Regions from separate parts of the Homo sapiens genome. Here region 1 is linked to region 2. Evidence: promoter capture Hi-C in 16 types of primary human blood cells and fetal thymus (Javierre and others, 2016). All regions are on one chromosome and are shown on one strand. The core of a region is centred on a gene start or on the middle of the fragment in contact, and the rest is flanking DNA. Distances in the headings are between cores, read along the strand shown.

What was found. The method cuts DNA at HindIII sites, captures the fragments that hold promoters and counts their contacts. A CHiCAGO score of 5 or more calls a contact.
Region 1: a contact is called between the fragment with the promoter of ATG9B here and a fragment that was not itself captured in region 2, in 1 of 17 cell types (non-activated CD4 T cells). The highest score is 6.1, in non-activated CD4 T cells.

The regions. Positions count from the first base shown.
Region 1 is chr7:151,023,127-151,025,965 of GRCh38, reverse strand. It overlaps ATG9B (autophagy related 9B), which reads left to right and starts at 1,472. Exons shown (of 14, transcript NM_001317056.2): 1 at 1,472-2,092; 2 at 2,236-2,279; 3 at 2,457-2,521; 4 at 2,760-2,839. The coding sequence starts at 1,543. It overlaps LOC124901777 (a long non-coding RNA gene), which reads left to right. Exons shown (of 3, transcript XR_007060593.1): 3 at 933-971. RefSeq lists an enhancer at 1-561. The HindIII fragment of the contact is 8,592 bases long and covers 1-2,839 here.
Region 2 is chr7:150,898,493-150,901,390 of GRCh38, reverse strand. No RefSeq gene overlaps it. Among named protein-coding and RNA genes, the nearest start is that of AOC1, 47 kb to the right of the region's middle. RefSeq lists silencers at 2,633-2,692, 2,710-2,870 and an enhancer at 2,576-2,870. The HindIII fragment of the contact is 3,989 bases long and covers 1-2,898 here.

The DNA of each region.
Region 1 (2,839 bases), core at 223-2,722, 120 kb before region 2:
AAGTCCCAGACTCACAGCTGTCCTCCCTTCTGATTCAGCCCTGATGCTTTTCAGGGGGTCCCAGAAGTGGGATCCGGACTTGAGAGAATGTCACAGTTGAAAATGATAAGGATGCAAACGGAATGGAACTTTCAGAGAACCCCAATTTTCTACTCTAAGTTCTCCAAACCAACTCTCAAATCCAAGATAGCTGCCTTTCCTTTCTTCACCTCCTCTTCTTAGTTTTCCCCAACTTGGCTGCAAAGTCAGCCTCCCCTCTTCTCTTCCTTAGCACCTCAGACCAATAAAACATGCAACCTTTTCTTATTCTTTTTAAAAAATTTATTTTTGACCAGGCGCAGTGGCTCACGCCTGTAATGCCAGCACTTTGGGAGGCCAAGGCGGGTGGATCACGAGGTCAGGAGTTCAAGACCAGCCTGGCCAACATGGTGAAACCCCATCTCTACTAAAAATACAAAAAATTAGCTGGGTGTGGTGGCACACACCTGTAGTCTCAGCTACTCAGGAGGCTGAAGCAGAAGAATCACTTGAACTTGGGAGGCGGAGGTTGCAGTGAGCCGAGATTGTGCCACTATACTCCAGTCTGGGTGACAGAGTGAGACTGCCTCAAAAAGAAAAAAAATTATTTTGTTTGTTTTTTAGATTTTGTAGAGATGGTGTTTCCCTAAGTTGCTCAGGCTGGTCTCGAACTCCTGGCCTCAAGTGATCCTCTCGCCCGGGCCTCCCAAAGTCCTGGGATTACGGGTGTAAGCCAACATGCCTGGCCCCTTTACTTCTTCTTTTCTGTTTTGGTCACAAAACATTTCTCTGTTGATCACTGTAGTGTGTGTGTGGAGGGAAGTGGGGGAGGTACACTCTTAAGAAATGAAATAGTTAACATCTTGGTCCTAAGATTTGTTGTAGAGATGGAGTCTTCTCATTCTGTTCCCCAGGCTGGTCTTGAACTCCTGGCCTCAAGCAATCCTCTTTCCTCGGCTTCCCAAAGTGCTGAGATTGATTACAAGTGTGAGGTACTGCGCCCTGCTACAATCCTTTAATAGGATGTTTTTGGGGGGGGTGGCAGGGGGCAGGATCTAGCTCACTGTAACCTATACTGTTCCAGTGTAACCTGCACCAAGCCATCCTCCCACCTCAGTCTCTTGAGTAGCTAGGAACACAAGCACACATCACCACACCTGGCTCTAACACGATTTTGCTTTTTGCTTTTGTCATTTTGGCTGCTGTTCTTTTTATCTTTCATTCATTCAAGGTCTGAAGATGGAGATAATAGGAATCTTCTCATCTCAATGTGCTCTTTGGCCCCTCCTCTTAAACTGATGCCCCTCTCAGGCCCTGAGGGATTTGGCCTCAGGTTGCCCTGGAAGGGGTGTGAGTGATCAGACAGGTGACTGAGAGCTGGGACGCCTGAGGCCTGCCTAGGCTGAGTCACCTAGTAATGTTGTTGTCATTGTTCCTGTTGAAGTCCCAGCTCAGTGTCACAGACCTTTGTGGAAGCAACAACAGCTCCCATCCTTCCAACCTTTCTGGAGAAGCCGTGGCCTGATGGTGAGCCGAATGGGCTGGGGGGGGAGAAGAAGGCGGCTGGGGCGGTGGGGAGATCTGGGGCCCGGATCGGTGCCCCTCCTCCCCATGCCACTGCCACCTCCTCCTCCTCCTTCATGCCGGGGACCTGGGGGAGGGAGGATCTCCATCTTCTCTCTGTCCCCTGCCCCTCATACAAGAAGCTCCCCCTCCTCATTTTCCCCTCCCACCGCAGGGCCCCCTTGCTCAGTGCTACAGGGGACAGGGGCTTCTCAGTCTTGCCACAGTGCTCTCCCTATCCCAGCCACCCCCCCAACACAGGCTCAACCTGCAATGACACCTGCCTCTGCATCTCCCTCCTGGGGATCCCACTCCACCCCACCCCTGGCCCCGGCAACCCCCACTCCCTCACAGCAGTGCCCCCAGGACTCTCCTGGGCTGCGGGTAGGCCCTTTGATCCCTGAACAGGATTATGAGCGGCTGGAGGACTGTGACCCTGAGGGGTCCCAAGACTCACCCATCCACGGGGAGGAGCAGCAACCCCTGCTTCATGTCCCTGAAGGGCTCCGAGGTATGTGTGTGGGTGTGGGTGGGAGAGGGTTAGTGGTGCCTGGGAGCTCCAGTACTTATCCCAGGCTGGGCCTCTGGCAGCGGGTTGAGAACGTGGAGAATTGATCACATGCCAGGGGCTGACACTCTCCCCTCTGTGCCCAGGCTCCTGGCATCACATCCAGAACCTGGACAGTTTCTTCACCAAGATATCCTTTGCGCTAGGCCTGCAGAGGTGGCATGGGAAGGTCCTCTTGGAGCTGGCACTGTTCTTGGCAGGGAGACTCCGTGAGGGCGTCATGGGTGGGAGACTTGTTGGGGCTGAGGGGAGGTGTCCTCAGGAGAGGCCCCCCGTGCCTCAGGCTTGTTCCTTGACACGCAGCCACATCTACAGCTACCACCAGCGGAATGGCTTTGCCTGCATCTTGCTGGAGGATGTCTTCCAGCTGGGGTGAGACGCTTAGCCCGGGCCCGGAACTCGGTCCCCTGGGCCCATGGCTTCCTTCTGTCATTTTGCTTCCTTAATTGTGCCAGCTGCTTCCATCCCATGCTTTCCCGAGCAGCCCAAGGGCTCAGCAGGGGCAGGGTCAGGGAGGATAACCATGGGCTGCTCTGGGGGCTGGGGCAGGAGCCCACCTGGCTGTCCCTGATCACTGCAGCATCCCGGCACCCCCCCTTCCTCCCGGCAGACAATTTATTTTCATTGTCACCTTCACAACCTTCCTCCTTCGATGCGTGGATTACAATGTTCTCTTTGCCAACCAACCAA
Region 2 (2,898 bases), core at 1-2,500:
GTGCAGTGCATGTGCAGTGTGGCTGGGGAGGGAGCTCAAGTTCGCTCTGCAGAGGCTTGGCTGCAGCAGCAGCCCTTTGATCCCCGAGTTACAGACCTTGCCCTGGGCCGGTTCTTCCTGCTCTGGAGCTGGGGGCAGGGACAATATCACAGAGTAAGGCCAGTCTGGACTCTAGAAAAGTGTCTCTAAACTGGGAGACTCCTCCATCCCACCCAGAGTCCAGAAGCAGGCTAGGGTCCCCTCCATCCAGAAAGAAGGTGCCCTCCCCGCAGCAAGCTGGAAACACCAGAGTCGACTGGAATTCCAGGTTTACTGAGGGCCTGCTGTGTTCCAGGTCCCAGAGGTGTAGGTCCTGGAGGTGTAAAAATGAGCCAGGGGCTTTCAACCCAGCGAGGCAGAGAGGCAAGTGAGGCCAGGGGTGAGAGCAGCTGGGTAAGCACAGGGAAGAGGCCCCGGTACCCGCGAGTGCTCCATGGTACAGAGCCTGGGTTCTCACTGGAGAGAGAGACAGAGTAAGTGCAAGTGCATAAGGCAATTCCCTACAGCAACAGTGAGGGCAGAAGACAGGGCTGTGGGGGCTGGGTCGCCGTGGAGAAAGTCTCTTTGGGAAGTGACATTTGAACTGGATGCGCTGGGTTTACCTTTTAAGGTCAGGAGAGGCAGACGCAGAGGAATCAGAAGATGCAAGGCCCTGAGGTGGAAACAAGTTTTGGTGTGGCTGGAAATGAGGATGTCATAATTTTGTCAAAGTAATGCTGCCCAGGCCAGGTGCCGTGGTTCACACCTGTCACCCCAACGCCTTGGGAGGCCGAGGCAGGAGGATCACTGAGCCCAGGAGTTTGAGACCAGCCTGGGCAACATAGTGAGACCCCTACTCTAAAAAAAAAATTAGCCAGGCATGGTGCACACCTGTAGTCCCAGATATTTAGGAGGCTGAGGTGGGAGAACTGCTTGAGCCCAGGAGTTCAAGGCTGCAGGAGTGACCTGTGATTGCACCACTGCACTCCATCCTGGAAGACAGAGAGAGACTCTGTCTCTAAAATAATAATCATAATAACAAACAGCTCTCAAACTCAGTGCATTATGACAACCAGTGTTAATTACTCTCATACTCACAGGTCTCAGATGGCTATAATTTGGCTGATCCAGGATAGGTGTGGCTGGACGGCCCTGCCTTAGGCTGTAGGTAGCCTGGGTTTGACGCAAGTTCAGGTGGTTGCACCAAGTTTGTCCTGGGGCACAGCAGAGGCTCTCTGGAGGAAGCTCTTCTTACCCTGGACTTCTGGAGTGGAAAGAAGGAGCCAGGCCATGTGGGCGCATGGAGTGCTTCTGCTAGTTCCATCCTCCAACAGCCCCAGGGCCAAAACACGTCAGGTGGTCAAGTCCAACATCAATGAGCAGGGGAGTCTATACGGGAGGAGTGTGAGTATTTGCTGAATAATAATAACCCAGACTGTCACCCGCCACCTCAGAGAGGAGCTGTGAGGACGGAGGGAGTCACTGCCTGGTTTGTGCACATGTTAAATGCTTACCCCATGCTAACTGATACGTGGAGGATGTAGGGATGGGTCAGATTCTCAAGGTCTTGATAAATCACGTTGAAAATTTTGGGAGCCATGGAGGCTTCAATCAGAAGGGTGACAGGGTTTGATCTGGATTTCAGAGCAACCCCTCTGGAAGCCGCGTTGAGGTTGGTCTGATGGAGGCGAGACTGGGGTCTCAGGGTGATGAGCAGTAAGTCATCATGGGGAAAGGAAAGATGGAACGAATTCAGGAAATGCTGGGAAGGTGGGACTCACGGGTAGATGGCAGAGGGGCTGTGTGGAGGGAAGCAGGTGCCTAGGCTCTCGGTTCTTGGCTTGGGTCAAGGGACATGATGATAGACCCTGGGCTGGGGAGCACAGGAGGAAGGGCTGGCCTGTGCAGGGGATAGAGGAGGTGATAAACCGGCTTAGACATGTGGAGTGTGAGGTTCTCACAGGACGTTTAGGTAGAGGTACAGGTCTTGGCGTGTAAGAGAAGAATATGGACATGGGACATATATTTGGGAGTCAAATCGGTTAAGGGGCAGGCAGGAAGTGAGCCCCAGTTATTGAGGTTTCCAGGGAATGGGAAATATGCTGGGTTGGCGCAGGGGAACTCCAGTGGCGCATATTCACATGTGGCTGACGTCGCCGTGAGATAGCCATCCTCATATTCTTCTTCTAAACTAAAGCCTGAAATTACTTGGGGGTGGCAAAGCCCAGCAAAAGAGCCCACCCCCAGCCTCCATGGCTAAGGCTTGGCCAATGAGTTGTAAGACAAGTGATGTCTGTGAATTCCGGCAAAGCACAGTGAAGGTAGCCATACCCTTCTCTGTCCCCTCCTCCATCCTACTGCCTGACTTGTATGAGATGGCTGGAGCTCTGGCAGTCACCGTGGACTAGGAGGCTGGGGGCTACATCCCAGGTGGAGGCCGTGAGGAGGAAGGAGGCTGCGTGCCCTAGGCCTTCATGGGGCCCCTAAGCCACTCAGGACTGTGTTTACAGAGAAACACGACTGTCTCTTGTTGAAGCCGCTGTGAACACATTTTTCTGTTCCATTCAGCTGAACTTGGTCCACAGGGAGCCATTTTGAGTCTGCCGTTCTTGGTCAAGCCTCACCCCGGGGGCATTTCCAGCCTCTGTTTTCTCCGCGGGATTAATAAGAGGCAGCCGTGCCCGGTCCAGTCGCCGCGAGGTGTTGTGCGCCACCTGGTGGTCGCGTGGCAGACAGCATTCCTCCAAGCGAGACAGCACCAGCGGCTAAAATGCAGCTATCTGCACCTCGAACCCAGCCCATCTTTTAGCCAATGACAAGCCAAGTGCCCCAGAGTCCTGCATGGCAGTGGACGCTGACAAGAACTCCAGGAATTCCAGA